Linked DNA regions of Homo sapiens: all the other regions are linked to region 1. The links are contacts of gene promoters, found by promoter capture Hi-C in human tissues and cell types (Jung and others, 2019). All regions are on one chromosome and are shown on one strand. Each heading gives the region's core, a stretch centred on a gene start or on the middle of the fragment in contact. The rest is flanking DNA. Distances are from core to core; before and after follow the strand shown.

What was found. The method cuts DNA at HindIII sites, captures the fragments that hold promoters and counts their contacts. A contact is called where the count stands out against the background at its distance.
Region 2: a fragment that was not itself captured here is called in contact with the fragment with the promoter of POLDIP3 in region 1 in 1 of the 25 tissues and cell types used here (dorsolateral prefrontal cortex).
Region 3: a contact is called between a fragment that was not itself captured here and the fragment with the promoter of POLDIP3 in region 1, in 1 of the 25 tissues and cell types used here (lymphoblastoid cells).

Annotation. Positions count from the first base shown.
Region 1 is chr22:42,612,629-42,617,337 of GRCh38, reverse strand. It overlaps POLDIP3 (DNA polymerase delta interacting protein 3), which reads left to right and starts at 2,455. Exons shown (of 9, transcript NM_032311.5): 1 at 2,455-2,539. The coding sequence starts at 2,481. It overlaps RNU12 (RNA, U12 small nuclear), which reads right to left and starts at 2,094; the gene lies at 1,945-2,094. It overlaps LOC124905127 (a long non-coding RNA gene), which reads left to right and starts at 2,559. Exons shown (of 2, transcript XR_007068118.1): 1 at 2,559-4,709. RefSeq lists enhancers at 1,468-1,597, 2,248-2,307, 2,388-2,567, 2,060-2,603, 2,604-3,147 and 1 more and silencers at 2,038-2,097, 2,638-2,967. The HindIII fragment of the contact is 15,212 bases long and covers 1-4,709 here.
Region 2 is chr22:42,032,519-42,037,227 of GRCh38, reverse strand. It overlaps a transcript of WBP2NL not described here. Among named protein-coding and RNA genes, the nearest start is that of NAGA, 36 kb to the left of the region's middle. The HindIII fragment of the contact is 4,997 bases long and covers 1-4,709 here.
Region 3 is chr22:43,136,153-43,140,861 of GRCh38, reverse strand. It overlaps MCAT (malonyl-CoA-acyl carrier protein transacylase), which reads left to right. Exons shown (of 4, transcript NM_173467.5): 3 at 3,564-3,781. Among named protein-coding and RNA genes, the nearest start is that of MCAT, 4.9 kb to the left of the region's middle. RefSeq lists an enhancer at 3,254-3,423. The HindIII fragment of the contact is 7,455 bases long and covers 1-4,709 here.

The DNA of each region.
Region 1 (4,709 bases), core at 1,206-3,705:
ATGGGAGAGGGCTCTAAGGCAGCGATTCTCCATACAGACTCGACACCTTTATTTATTATTTTTGGGACGGAGTCTCGCTCTGTCTCCCAGGCTGGAGTGCAGTGACATGATCTTGGCTCCCTGCAGCCTCTGCCTCCCAGGTTCAAGCGGTTCTATTGCCTCAGTCTCCGGAATACCTGGGGATTACAGGCGTGCACCACCACACCGGCTAATTTGTTTGTATTTTTAGTAGAGATGGGGTTTCACCATGTTGGTCAGACTGGTCTGAAACTCCTGACCTCAGGTGACCCACCCTCCTCGGCCTCCCAAAGTGCTGGGATCACAGGTGTGAGCCACCATGCCTGGCCAACACCTTTAAAATAACAGTTGTAACGGGCCCTTTACGCTGCAGAATTCACAGGCAGTATCACCTACCTATACGAAGAATTTTAAAAATCAACACAGCTCTAAATGAGTTGTAAAAGAACAAGAAAGGAGGCCGGGTGCTGTGTCTCATGCTTGTAATCCCAGCACTTTGGGAGGCCGAAGCAGGTGGATCACCTGAGGTCAGGAGTTCGAGACCAGCCTGGCCAACATTGTGAAACCCCCGTCTCTACTAAAAATACAAAAATTAGCCGGGCGTGGTGGCGTGCGCCTGTAATCCCAGCTACTCGGGTGGCTGAGACAGGAGAATCGCTTGAACCCGGGAGGCGGAGGCTGTGGTGAGCTGAGATTGTGCCACTGCACTCCAGCCTGGGCGACAGAGCGAGACACCGTCTCAAAAATAAAAATAAAATTGTCCTCCGCATCTGCCCTACACTGCCCAGCTGACCCCACTGGCCAGCCTGTCCTCCTCCCACCTCTTGCGCGTTCCTCCTGGCACGCCTGGAAGGGAGGAAAGGCTTAATGGTCCCGTTCTATGGGTGAGGAAAAGAGGTCTGGGAAGGAGCCCGGCGTGGTGGGGCGGGCCTGTAATCCCAGCTACTCAGGAGGCTGAGGCAGGAGGATTGCAGGATCGCTCTTACCCAGTTTCTTTCTTTCTTTCTTTTTTTTTTTTTTTTGAAACGGAGTCTTGCTCTGTCGCCTAGGCTGGAGTGCAATGGCGCGATCTCGGCTCACCGCAACCTCCGCCTCCCGAGTTCAAGCGATTCTTCTGCCTCAGGCTCCTGAGTAGGTGGGATTTCAGGCCGTGCCACCGCGCCCGGCTAATTTTTTTCTTTCTTTTTTTTTTTTTCAGTAGAGACGGGGTTTCTCCGTGTTGGCCAGGCTGGTCTCGACCTCCTGACTTCAGGTGATCCACCCGCCTCAGCCTCCCAAAGTGCTGAGATTACAGACATGAGCCACCGCTCCTGGCCTCTTACCCAGTTTCTGCACGGAGCTCCTGATGCCTGATGGCCAAGAGGACATAACCCCACCTGTTCTAAGGGCATGGAGTGTATTTTTAGAGTGATTGGACAAAATATGTGCCGAACACCTACGTCAGGTCTGGCGCATGCTGGAGGCTGGGGTTATATCAATGCAAAAGCCATTCCCTGTATTTAACACGTAAATGAATTAGTCTCTTTAACTCTCCCAACGCCCTATAAATTATTTGCTCCATTTTACATATTAAACGCTGTCACGAACTGAGCTGCTGTGTGAGGCCGGGGCCGGACTTATCTTTCTGAAGCACAGAGAAGCGGTTATACGCAGAAGTTTGGGAGAACTGGGTAAGGCCGCACACATGGAAATTGCCAGTTTCGTGGGTCCCAACGTCAATACTGTGGGCAACCTTAGACCGGCTCAAAGCGCAGCTGGGGACGGTGATGAAGTGCAGAGCGTCCACAGCCAGCGACAAGACTGCCAAGCAACTGGCAGCCTGAGTAACGGAGAAAACAACGAAAAAAACGCATTCACCACCTACCAACAAGAAACAAAAAACACGACCACCCCACAGTCAGTCTACTTTTTAGGCGTGAATAAGGTCGGGCAGATCGCAACTCCCAGGCATCCCGCAAAGTAGGCGGGTCACCTTGAGGGCGACCTTTACCCGCTCAAAAATTCGTCTCACATTAGCAGTGAGGATTCGGGCGTCACCCCGAATCGTTATTTTCCTTACTCATAAGTTTAAGGCATAAGGACGTTTTTAGTTTATTTCCTAGGTAATGAATTCTATTCTCATTAGGCGTATGATGACTATCGTAGTTGACTGTTGAGGTCATGATCCAGTTCCATTGAAGTTTGTCTCACTTGTTAATAATGTATTTTGTTGCTTTTCATTTAATTTTTTCCCTCGAGGAAAATAAATAATTCATAATGTGCCGAACTTCCGTATGCAGATGAGCAGCCAGCACCGCGAAGGCTCACGGGGAACGTCCCCGCCCCTTCCGGTTCTTGCCTGCTTTGAGCTGGCTGTCGCGAGAGTTGGTCCGCGGACGCCGGAAGTAGTTCGTCGCTCCCTAGCGGCCGAAGGGGCGGGCTCGCGGGGTCTCGACTGCTTTCGGCTTGCTCGGCGGAGCAAGATGGCGGACATCTCCCTGGACGAACTCATCAGGAAGCGCGGGGCGGCGGCGAAAGGACGGTGAGAGGCCTTTCCTTTCTTCGGGGTTTAGGGTCCTCGGCCTAGTGGAGCTCGAGGCGGGGGAGGTAGCGATCCGGGAGCGACGCGGAGGACCGGGTGCGCCCGCCCCCGACCACAGCCGCGCTCCTCATTGGCCGGCTGCCGCCGTCCCCGCCGTGGCCCCGACCGCCCGCCCACTGGCCGAGGCGCAGTCCCTCTGGCGGCCCTGGGAGGCCGACGGGGCCGCGGCGGGGACAGGGTGCCGCCTCGTGGACCTGAGGGGCTGCCCCCTGGGGCCCCCGCGTTCCGGGGTCCTGGGGTCTCGGCGGCGCAGCCTCCTTGCCTGTGTGGACTGGCATTTGGGCCCCGCTCCGTGATCTCGGCGCTGCCTGGTCTCCACCCATCTTAGAGTTGAGACAACCGAAGTTTAGTAGCGGGGAAGTGACTTGCTCCGACCGCCGAAGCTGAGGCGCAAGCCCAAATCCCCCTGCACGCGGCCCCTGTTAACACTCGCCTCTCTTTGTGCGGCGTTTTAAGTTTTCTGAGCCCTTTCATATACACGATGCCTCATTTAATCTTTTACAGTCCTGTTGTCTGCTAGCTATTCATGTTACCCACCTTTTACTGATGGGGAACTTGAGGCTGGAAGTGGTAGAGTGACTTGCCCGAGGCCACGGAGAACTGAGCGGCGGGCTGAGCGCGATTTAATTGCTGGCTGAGTTGGCCTCCTACATGGGCTTGAAAAACTGGTGTGTTGGGCAGGAGATTGGTTATTTCCTTAGGGAGAAGAAAGTGCTTGAGCTGGCTGAGGAGCCATGGAGGTGATTTGCAGTCATGTCTCCCAAACTTCCCCTAGACCCTTAAATGTTGTTAGTCATTTCAAGCCTTCGTGAGCTGAGTTCATCTGTATGAAGAAGTGAGAACTTTGCCCAATAGTTTCCCAACACACATTAAGTTTAAATGTCTTTGTAAATAGCCAGGATGTAAATATGTTAGATATTGTTTTCTCAGACATTTGTTCTCTCAGCAGATGTTTATTTTTATTTTTATGTTTTTTTTGAGACGGGGTGTTGCTCTGTCGCCCAGGCTGGAGTGCAGTGGTGCCATCTCGGCTCACTGCAACCTCCGCCTCCCCGGTTCCAGCGATTCTCCTGCCTCAGCCTCCCAAGTAGCAGGGACTACAGGTGTGCACCACCACGCCCGGCTAATTTTTGTATTTTTAGTAGAGATGGAAGTTTCACTGTGTTGGTCAGGCTGGTTTCGAACTCCTGACCTCAGGTGATCCTCCCGCCTCGGCCTCCTAAAGTGCTGGGATTACAGGCGTGAGCCACCGGCCCGGCCATTCCGCAGATGTTTATTAATACCACCCGTATGCCTGTGGTTAGGTTTTTCTCTTGATGTCTGAAATGTATCCCTCACCTCCTTCCCCATCCTGGACACTTGTATCAACTACAACTGCCACCACCACCTCATAATTCGCAGCCAGCACTTACCTGGCTTGTGGTTCGTAACGGGCACACATTAGTATTTGTTTCCTCAACTACTGACTGTGAAAGCTCTCTCAGATCTCCATCTAGTGACTGATGTGAAGCTGGTGCTGGCTCCTCTGGCCACTTCTAAGTCCATCCACGTTTTGTAGGTTCCTTTGGAAACGACAGAATGATCCACCCCAGGTTCTTCTCTCTCTGAGGTCACTCCGCCAGTTTCTGACTGCAGGTGGACTGCACTGTAGTCTATTTGATCTCTATGTTTTTGGTTTTAGTGTGTGCAGAGTTTTGTGTTGGGCAGTAGGTGGGGCTGCAGGAATGGGGGGTGGTTATGTGTGGATCCACAGGAACAGGGGCCTTGCAGCTGGATACACCTGGCACTTGCCACTGTTGGGTTCTGTTTCCCTGGCCAGGGGAGTTCTGAACTAGGCAGTTTCCTCACTTGGAATGGTGATTCCTGGTTGAGCGGGATTAAATGTGAGAAGGGTTTTTTTTGTTTGTTTTTTTGAGAGGGAGTCTCACTGTATTGCTCAGGCTGGAGTGCAGTGGCACAGCCTTGGCACACTGCAACCTCTGCCTCTTGGGTTTAAGTGATTCTCCTGTCTCAGCCTCCCAAGTAGCTGGGATTACAGGTGCCCGACACCACGACTGTCTAATTTTTGTATTTTTAGTAGAGATGGGGTTTTACCATGTTGGCCAGGCTG
Region 2 (4,709 bases), core at 981-3,480, 580 kb after region 1:
AGAACACACAATCGGGAAAGGATAATCTGTTCAATAAACAGTACTGGAAAAACTGGGTATCTACACACACACACACACACACACACACACACACACACAAATGAAATCTGACCCCATCTCATACTACACAACAATCAACTCAAATAGACAAAAGGCTCAAATGTAAAACTTGAAACTGCAAAATTCCTCGAAGAAAACATTGGGAAAACCTTGACATTGGTCTTGTAATAATTTTCTCAATATGACACCAAAAGCACAGGCAATGAAAGAAAAAATAGACAAGTGGGATTACATCAAACTAAAAAGCTTCTGCAGAGCAGAAGAAATAATCCAAAAAATGAAAAGGCAACCTACAGAATGGGAAAATAATGTTTGGAAACTATATAGCTGATAAGGGATTAATATCCAAAATATATAAGGAACTCATACAACTCAATGCTAAAAATACAAATAACTGGATTAAAAAATGGGCCAAGAACCAAAATAGACACTTCTCAAAAAAGGAAATTCAGATGGCCAATAAGCATATGAAAATGTGTTCAACATTTGTAATCATCAGGTAAATGCAGATCAAAACCATAATGAGATATCACTTCACACCTTTTAGGCTATTATCAAAAAGATAAAAGATAACAAATGTTGTCAAGGATGTGGAGAAAAGAGAACCCTTGTACACTGCTGTTAGGAATATACATTCATACAGCCATTATGGAAAAAGTATGAAGGTTCCCAAAAAATTAAAAATAGAACACATGGCCGGGCACGGTGGCTCACGCCCGTAATCCCAGCACTTTGGGAGGCCGAGGCGGGGAGATCACAAGGCCAAGAGATCAAGACCATCCTGGCTAACATGCTGAAACCCCATCTCTACTAAAAGTAAAAAAAATTAGCCGGGCATGGTGGCAGATGCCTGTGGTCCCAGCTGCTCGGGAGGCTGAGGCAGGAGAATGGTGTGAACCCAGGAGGCAGAGCTTGCAGTGAGCCCAGATCACGCCACTGCACTCCAACCTGGGCGACAGAGCGAGACTTGGTCTCAAAGAAAAAAAAAAATAGAACATATGATCAAACAATCCTATAGGATAGTAAAGGGATATCTGTACTCCCATTGTTCACTGTAGCATTTTGCACGACAGTCAAGATATGGAAACAACCTAAATGTCCTTCAGTGATGAACAGATAAAGAAAATGTGATTATACACACATACAAAACAGACTATTATTCAGCCTTTAAAAAAGAAAATCCTGCCATTTGTAACAAAATGAATGAAGCTGGAGGAAGTTATGTTAAACAAAATAGGCAAGACACAGAAAGAGAAATACTGCATGATCTCCCTTTTATGTAGAATCTAAAATAGTCAAACTATAGAAACAGAAAGTAGGATGGTGGTTGCCAGGGGCTGGGAAGAGGGGGAAATGGAGGATGTTGGTCAAAGGGTATAAAAATGGTAACTATATACAGGTAATAGATATGTTAATTAGTTGGAATGTGATGGTCATTTCACAATGTTTCACAAAAACATTCAGTTGTATACATTAAATATATATAATTTTTGTATGTCATAAATATTAAATTATTGCAAAATAATTTAAGAGACAAAAAAGTGATTCACCAACTGTGTTTAATAGCTACATATTAATGATGGCAGCAGCAGGCCATCTGGAGCAGCTGCTGCCATCACGCTGGCTGCAGCAACTAGGCATGGCCAGGGCTGCATGCTCCATGGAGAAGGCAAAAGCCAGGGACAAGCGCGAGACCCGCCCCTTCCAAGTTGGGGTGAGAGCTTCCTGGATGCTGCTGCAGCCGCCCAAGCCGTGGCTGCAGACCCAGGCATCCCTGTGCTCTCAGGGCCCAGAGGGGCAGGTGGGAGCTCCACCCTCCCAGGCACAGCTCCAGCTGCCCAAACCGTGGCTGCAGACCCAGGCATCCTTGCACTCTTGGGGGCCCAGGAAGGCCCCCCTTGTTGCGGGAAGTCAGGGACCCCAAACGGAGGGACCGGCTGAAGTCATGACAGAAGAATGTGGATTGTGAAGATTTTATGGACATTTATTAGTTCCCCAAATTAATACTTTTGTAATTTCTTATGCCTGTCTTTACTGCAGTCTCTAAACATAAATTGTAAAGATTTAATGGACACTTATCACTTCCCCAGTAAATATCCTTGTGATTTCCTATGCCTGTCTTTGCTTTAATCTCTTAATCCTGTCAGCTGAGAAGGATGTGTATCGTCTCAGGACCCTGTAATAATTGCGTTAACTACACAAATTGTACAGCATATGTGTTTGAGCAATATGAAATGTGGGCACCCTGAAAAAAGAACAGGATAACAGCAATTGTTCAGGGAATAAGAGAGATAACCTTAAACTCTGACCACCGGTGAGCCGGGCAGAACAGAGCCATATTTCTCTTCTTTCAAAAGCAAATGGGAGAAATATCACTGAATTCCTTTCTCAGCATGGAAAGTCCCTGAGAAAGAGAATGCGCACCTAGGGGTAGGTCTCTGAACTGGCCCCCCCGGGGCGTACCTGTCTCTTATGGTCGAGATTGCAGAGGTGAAATAAACTCCAGTCTCCCATAGCGCTCCCAGGCTTATTAGGAAGAGGAAATTCCCGCCTAATAAACTTTGGTCAGACCGGGTGATCTCAAAACCCTGTCTCCTGATAAGATGTTATCAATGACAATGGTGCCTGAAACTTCATTAGCAATGTGATCTCACCCTGCCTCCACTTGCCTTGTGATATTCTATTACCCTGTTAAGTACTTGATGTCTGTCACCCACACCTATTCGCACACTCCCTCCCCTTTTGAAAATCCCTAATAAAAACTTGCTGGTTTTTGTGGCTTGTGGGGCATCACAGATCCTACCAACGTGTGATGTCTCCCCCGGATGCCCAGCTTTAAAATTTCTCTCTTTTGTACTCTGTCCTTTTATTTCTCAAGTCAGCCGACGCTTAGGAAAATAGAAAAGAACCTACGTGATTATTGGGGCAGGTCCCCCGATACCCCCTTGCCCTTGCAGGCATGGAAATGCCTGTTCCTACTGCCTAGCTTCTCCCTGCCTTCTCTGATCTCAGAGCAAAGTTGGGCAGTGCTGACACACCAGCCCCCTGCCGCCCTGGCCCCCTCCAGATTTTGGGCACAATGAGCATAGAAGGAAACTGAGGGGAGCTGAGGGCAGCTTGGCTTGGCACCTACAGCCTGGGTACCATCAACGGAAGGAGGCAGACAGGTTCCTGGGTAGAAGGGGATGGGTCCCTGGTGACGTCACACCTTCAGGCCAGGGAGGGCTTGAAAGCTGGGGGCCAGGATGCCAGTCCCATGGACTGGAGTGAGAACTTGTGATGGCTTTTCTGGGCCTGCCCATGGCCACATATGGACCAATCGATATGTACTTCTTCCCCTCTGAGGCCCATAAAATCCCTGGGCTCAGCCAGAGCTAAGCAGATGTTGGGACGACCAGCTGCAGAGAGGAGCTACCCATTCCAGGACCCCTCTCTGTTGAGAGCAGCAGACATCAGCACAATGAGCTGCAGTGAAGAGCTACCCACTCCAGGGCCTCCTCTCTGCTGAGAGCCACAGAGATGACAGGAAGACCTGCCTGCAGATAGGAGCTACCCACTCCAAGGCCTCCTCTGAGCTATTGTCACTCAATAGCTCCTGTTTGTCTTGCTCACCCTCCACTTGTCTGTGTACCTCATTCTCATTGCTCACCCTCTACTTGTCTGTGCACCTCATTGAAGAACTTTGGACCCACTAAATGAGGCTAAAAGACCTGTAACACAAACAGGGTTGAGACATGCCCCTTGCTCAACATGTTGTGGGCAAAGAGAAGAAAAGAAGAGCTGCAGCCCTTTGGGAAGCCCAGACCTGGGAGCTCTCCAAGCCAGGGCTGTGACTCCCTCTTTGGGGCCCTATGGTTCCTGGCATCTCCAAGCTTCTGGGCACCACCTTTTCCCTGGTGCCAGCTGTGGAAGCTGCTTGGAGTGCGACTGGTCCAGCTGCAGCCTCGTGGAGAGCTGGTGCCCATGCTGGTACCTGGAGCTGACCACCCCACTGCAGCAGCTGGCACATCTGACTGAAAAATAGCCAGACCCCACACTTCCCCACACACCCCTTGTCACTCCATGCAATCTCCCTTGGCAGGCATGGGATCCAGGCCAGTAGCATGAGCCAAGTGCAGCCTGTCAGGCCGGGTGGGTGGAATGAGCCCAGTGGGCCCAAGCAATACTTGGGCAGAGGTGCCACTTGTCCACAGAGGTTTCTGGCCAGAAAAGTGACACCCCAAAGATACCATAATATTAATAATTAATACCCTGTTTTATTATTTATAATAAATTCTAATTACTAAAAATTACAAGTTTCTTATATTGGCTACTAAATCATACATCTAAACTAATCAAACTGCTGGTCACATCTGTATAGACCCTTTCCCTTTGACAGAACCCCTTCTTTCTAATCCATTTAGGAAGCTTCAAAGAAAGTTTATTCTCTAGCAGTCCATGGTTGTCTGCCCCACCCTCTTCAGGCTCCAGAAGACTCTCAAGGCAAAGGCCAGGAAGAATATCATACGTTTCACTTCCTACCTGACAATGAGGTAATCTGTGTAACAGAATAAATTTTTACATTATTAATTTGAATTGGGCTTCTACATTTTATATATATACATACATGATTTTCAAGCAAGCAACCAAGTGCTAGGCAAGGAAAGCCA
Region 3 (4,709 bases), core at 575-3,074, 520 kb before region 1:
TTCGTTGAATTAAAGAGTAAATAAATATTGGATCTGGAGCCATATCAGTTTTACTTCTTAAGATTTTTGCTGGCCAGGAACCATGGCTTACGTCTGTAATCCCAGTGCTTTGGGAGGCCAAGGCAGGAGGACCACTTGAGGCCAGGAGTTCCAGACCATCTTGGGCCACATAGTGAGACCTTCATCTCTGCCCCCAACAAAAAACAAAAATTACGTTGGGTGCAGTGATTCACACCTGTAATGCCAGCACTTTGGGAGGCAGAGGCAGATAGATGTTTGAGCCCAGGAGTTTTAGACCACCCTGGGCAACATGGTGAAAACCCCATCTCTACCGAAAATACAAAAATTAGCCAGGCATGTTGGTGTGCGCCTGTAGTCCCAGCTCGAGTACTTGGGAGGATGAGGTGGGAGGATTACCTGAACCCAGGAGGTCAAAGCTGCAGTGAGCTGTGATCGTGCCACTGCATTCCAGCCTGGGTGACAGAGTGACACCCTGTCACACACACACACATACACAAAATTAGCTGCACTTAGTGGCATGCATCTGTAATTCCAGCTACTCAGGAGGCTGAGGGAAGATCACTTGAGCCCCTGAGTCTGAGGCTGCAGTGAGCCACGATTGTGCCACTGCACTGCGGCATGGGTGACAGAGCAAGACCCTGTCCAAAACAAACAAAAAAGAATCTAGTATAGAAACACGAGAGGTTATTGGGACTGGAGAGGGAGAAATGGAGAGTGCCTACATAGTGGACATGGAGTGTTTGAAACTAGAGAGAGTTGGTGGTTGTACAACATTATGAATACCCCAAATACCACTGAATTATACACATTAAAGTGGTTAATTATATTTTATGTGAATTTCACTGCAGTGCTTTTTTTTTAAGCGTTATAACATTATTAAGGAAAGTTTCATAATTTCACATTTTATGAAACAATTTTATTACATGTATCATTTTATGTGTACATAATGTGCAGAATTAGGCTTGGTGTGGTGGCTCACGCCTGTAATCCCAGCCCAGCACTTTGGGAGGCCAAGGTGGGTGGATCACCTAAGGCAGGAGTTTGAGACCAGCCTGACCAACGTGGTAAAACCCCATCTCTACTAAAAATTCAAAAATTATCTGGGTGTGGTGGCGTGCACCTGTAATCTTAGCTACTTGGGAGGCTGAGGCACAAGAATCACTTGAACCAGGAGGCAGAGGTTGCAGTGAGCCGAGATTGTGCCACTGCACTCCAGCTTGGGTTAGAGAATGAGACTCTGTGTCAAAAAAAAAAAAAAAAGTGCAGAATTATAGCATAGTTACACTTTTGTGTTTTCTTTTTCTTTTTCTTTTTTGAGGCAGTATCTTGCTCTGTCACCCCAGCTGCAGTGCAGTGGTGCAGTCGTAGCTCACTGCAGCCTCAGCCTCTTGGCCTCAAGTGATCCTCCCGCTTCAGTCTCCAGACTAACTGGGACTACAGGCTCACACCATCATGCCCAGCTAATTTTAGAAGTTTTTGTAGAGATGGGGTCTCGCTATGTTGCCAGGGCTGGTCTGGAACTCCTGACTCAAGTGATCCTCCAGCTTCAGCCTCCTACAGTGCTGGGATTACTTACAGGCATTAGCCACTGTGCCTGGCCTACTTTTTTCCCTTGACATTTTACATAGTTTTGAATGTCTCTGTGGGAGGATGTCTGCGTGCTCTCCTCCCTTTTCTTGTATGTTTTCTTCTACTTCTTGTCACAGGCTCTTGTTCATTTGTTTTTTAAGAGACAGAGTTTTCCTCTGTCTTCCAGCCTTGAGTGCAGTGATGCAACCATAGCTCACTGCAGCCTCTAACTCCTGATCTCAAGCAGTCCTCCTGCCTTAGCCTCCTAAGTACCTGATGTCACAGGCTGTTTATGTATTTGTCCTCCTGTTCTTGTGTAAGGGAGCTAAAAGTCCAGTACATAGAAGTGCTAAGTGAATGAAGATATGTCAGGATTTGCTCCTTAGACCTCTCTGTTGACCTGTGAAACACTGTGCAGGTCCCTTAATCTCTTCTCAGTCTGGTCATCTCTTCTCTCTGCCCAGGAAGCAGGACCAGGGTGTCAGGGGTCTGGTAGTTTCAGGCCATTCTTATGTGTGGCTTTGTAGGGATTTTTGAGACAGGGTCTCGCTCTGTCACCCAGGCTGGAATACAGTGGCATGAACACAGCTCACTGTAGCCTCAACTTCCTGGGCTCCAGCAATCCTCCCACCTCAGCCTCCCAAGTAGCTGGGACCACAGGCGCACACTGCCACGCCCGGCTAATTTTTGTATTTTTGGTAGTGACAGGGTTTTACCATGTTGTCTAGTCTGGTCTCGAACTCCTGAGCTCAAGTGATCTGCCTGCCTTGGCCTCCCAAAGTGCCGGAACTACAGGTGCGAGCCACAGCGACCAGCCCTCAGGCCACTCTTATTATCATTGGCACTGCCTGCCCTCTCTCCATGCTCTTGAGCCACACTGAATCAGGAGTCATAGGTTTTCGTTCATCTGCATTGGCTGTGTCAGGTTCTCCAGCTCTAAGTGGGGACAGTAACACTTGACTTATGACAATTATGTCACTGAAATTCATGTAGTACAGTAGCCCATGTCTCTGATGGTTCTTTTTTGTTGTTCTTGTTTTGAGACAGGGTCTTGCTCTGTCACCAGGCTGGTGTGCAGTGGAGCAATCATAGCTTACTACAGCTGCAGCCTCAACCTGCTGGTCACAAGTGATCCTTCCGTGTCAGCCTCCCAAGCATCTGGGACTACAGGCAGGCACCACCATGCCTGGCTAATTTGTATTTTATTTTTTGCAGGGACAGGGTCTCCCTATGTTGCTCAGGCTGGTGTCGAGCTCCTTGGGCTCAAGCCGTCCTGCCTCAGCCTCCCAAAGTGCTGGGATTACAGGCATAAGCCACCATGCCCGGCCTGATCTCTCTTAATAAACTAACTAATAATAATTCCCAGCTTTCACAACAGCCCAGGCAGATTAGATATTATTATCCTCATTTTACTAACTAAAAATTTGAACCTCAAGGAGGTTGTGACTTGGCTAAGGCAATGTGGCTTCCACCCTGTTCCTCTTTACCTTTTACCAGGGTTTCTCAATAGTGGCACTATTTAAAAAAAAAAAAAAACAGTGGCGCTATTGGGCCAGGTCATTTGTTTTGTTGGGGGCAAGGGGGGCTGACCTGTGCAGTGCAGCATGTTGAGCAGCATCCCTGGACTCTACCCACTAGACGTCAGTGGCACTCTCCCCTAGTCAGAACAACCGGAAAACGTCTCCGGACACTGCCCCCGGCCTGTTGAGCACCACTGTCCTACTCCAAACCAGCTTTATAGCAGGAAGCTCCTTGGGTTAGTTTGTATAGTGCCAAGCACAGCAGCATACTTTTGGTGGTGAGCGCTTGTGCAGTCGATGGAGGTGTGTGGAACTGTGGCCCTGCTGGCTGGTGGCAGACACCAGTGCCCCTGTCTCTAGTGCAGAGTGGAGCTTGGGCTTTGTTTCTCAGGCCTGGCCTTTTCTCCTTCATTCTGTGCCCTCATTTTTCCAAATGCGCTTCTCTCTGGCCAGGTTTGTATGCAGTGAAAATCCGAGCTGAGGCCATGCAGGAAGCTTCAGAAGCTGTCCCCAGTGGGATGCTGTCTGTCCTCGGCCAGCCTCAGTCCAAGTTCAACTTCGCCTGTTTGGAAGCCCGGGAACACTGCAAGTCTTTAGGCATAGAGAACCCCGTATGTGAAGTGTCCAACTACCTCTTTCCAGATTGCAGGGTGATTTCAGGACACCAAGAGGTGGGTGTTGATGGGAACTGCCTTCATAGGCCAGTCCAGTACGGAGGGTTGGAACTGCTCCACACCCGTGAGGCCTAGCAGTCTGGCGGGTGCTGGGTCCAGCCCGGTCTTTAGGAAGTATTTTGGGGCCAGGGCAGTGAGGTAGACCGAGTGCTGCAAAGCAGGCAGGAGCAAGAATGCTGCCCTGCTCCACCACGTGTAGAATGGGGTCTGGAACCAACCAGCCAGCCCATGTCTAAAGTAAAGGGGCAGGGCCAGCTGATCTCCAGGGCCCTTCCCGTAGTACATTCTGGGCTTCTGAGGAGCCTGTGATCTGGTTGCTTCCTTAGAGAAAAGAGATTTGTTTTCTGCTAGATTGCTCTGCCTGCCCTGCTTTTTTTAGGTGTCTGTTTTTGCCCTGGAGTTCATTTCCTTTCCACCGTATTTCCTTCCATTTGCTACTTCCCCAAACATTTATCAAGGGCTGGGGACGCACAGACTGATTAGCCAGGGTTCCTGCCGTCAAAGGAAGAGCCCCGTGAATGGATGACTCCAGGCCGAGGGGTGCAGTGAGGGTCTGGCTGGCTACTCATGGGCCTAAGAGCAACCCAGGAGGCAGCAGCTGGAGGACGGGCATGTGTTTGCCAGCAGGGGGCACCCTGAGCAGAGCGGCAGGAGCCCCCTACAGAAAGAGCAGTGGGTGCTGAGTGCCTGGCTCAGGGAATGCTGAGTGAGCGCAGATTGCAGCCCGTGTGAGGGGCTGCTGCCCGGGCCAGGCATTTCTGTCTTACTTCATGTCCCTCACAGCCCATCCTGTGCTATATGGAAGGAAGGGATTCTTTTTTTGTTTGTTTGTTTGAGACAGGGTCTCACTGTGTTGCCTAGGCTGGAGTATGGTGGCACCATCACGGCTCACTGCAGCCTGGACCTCCTGGGCTCAAGTGTTCCT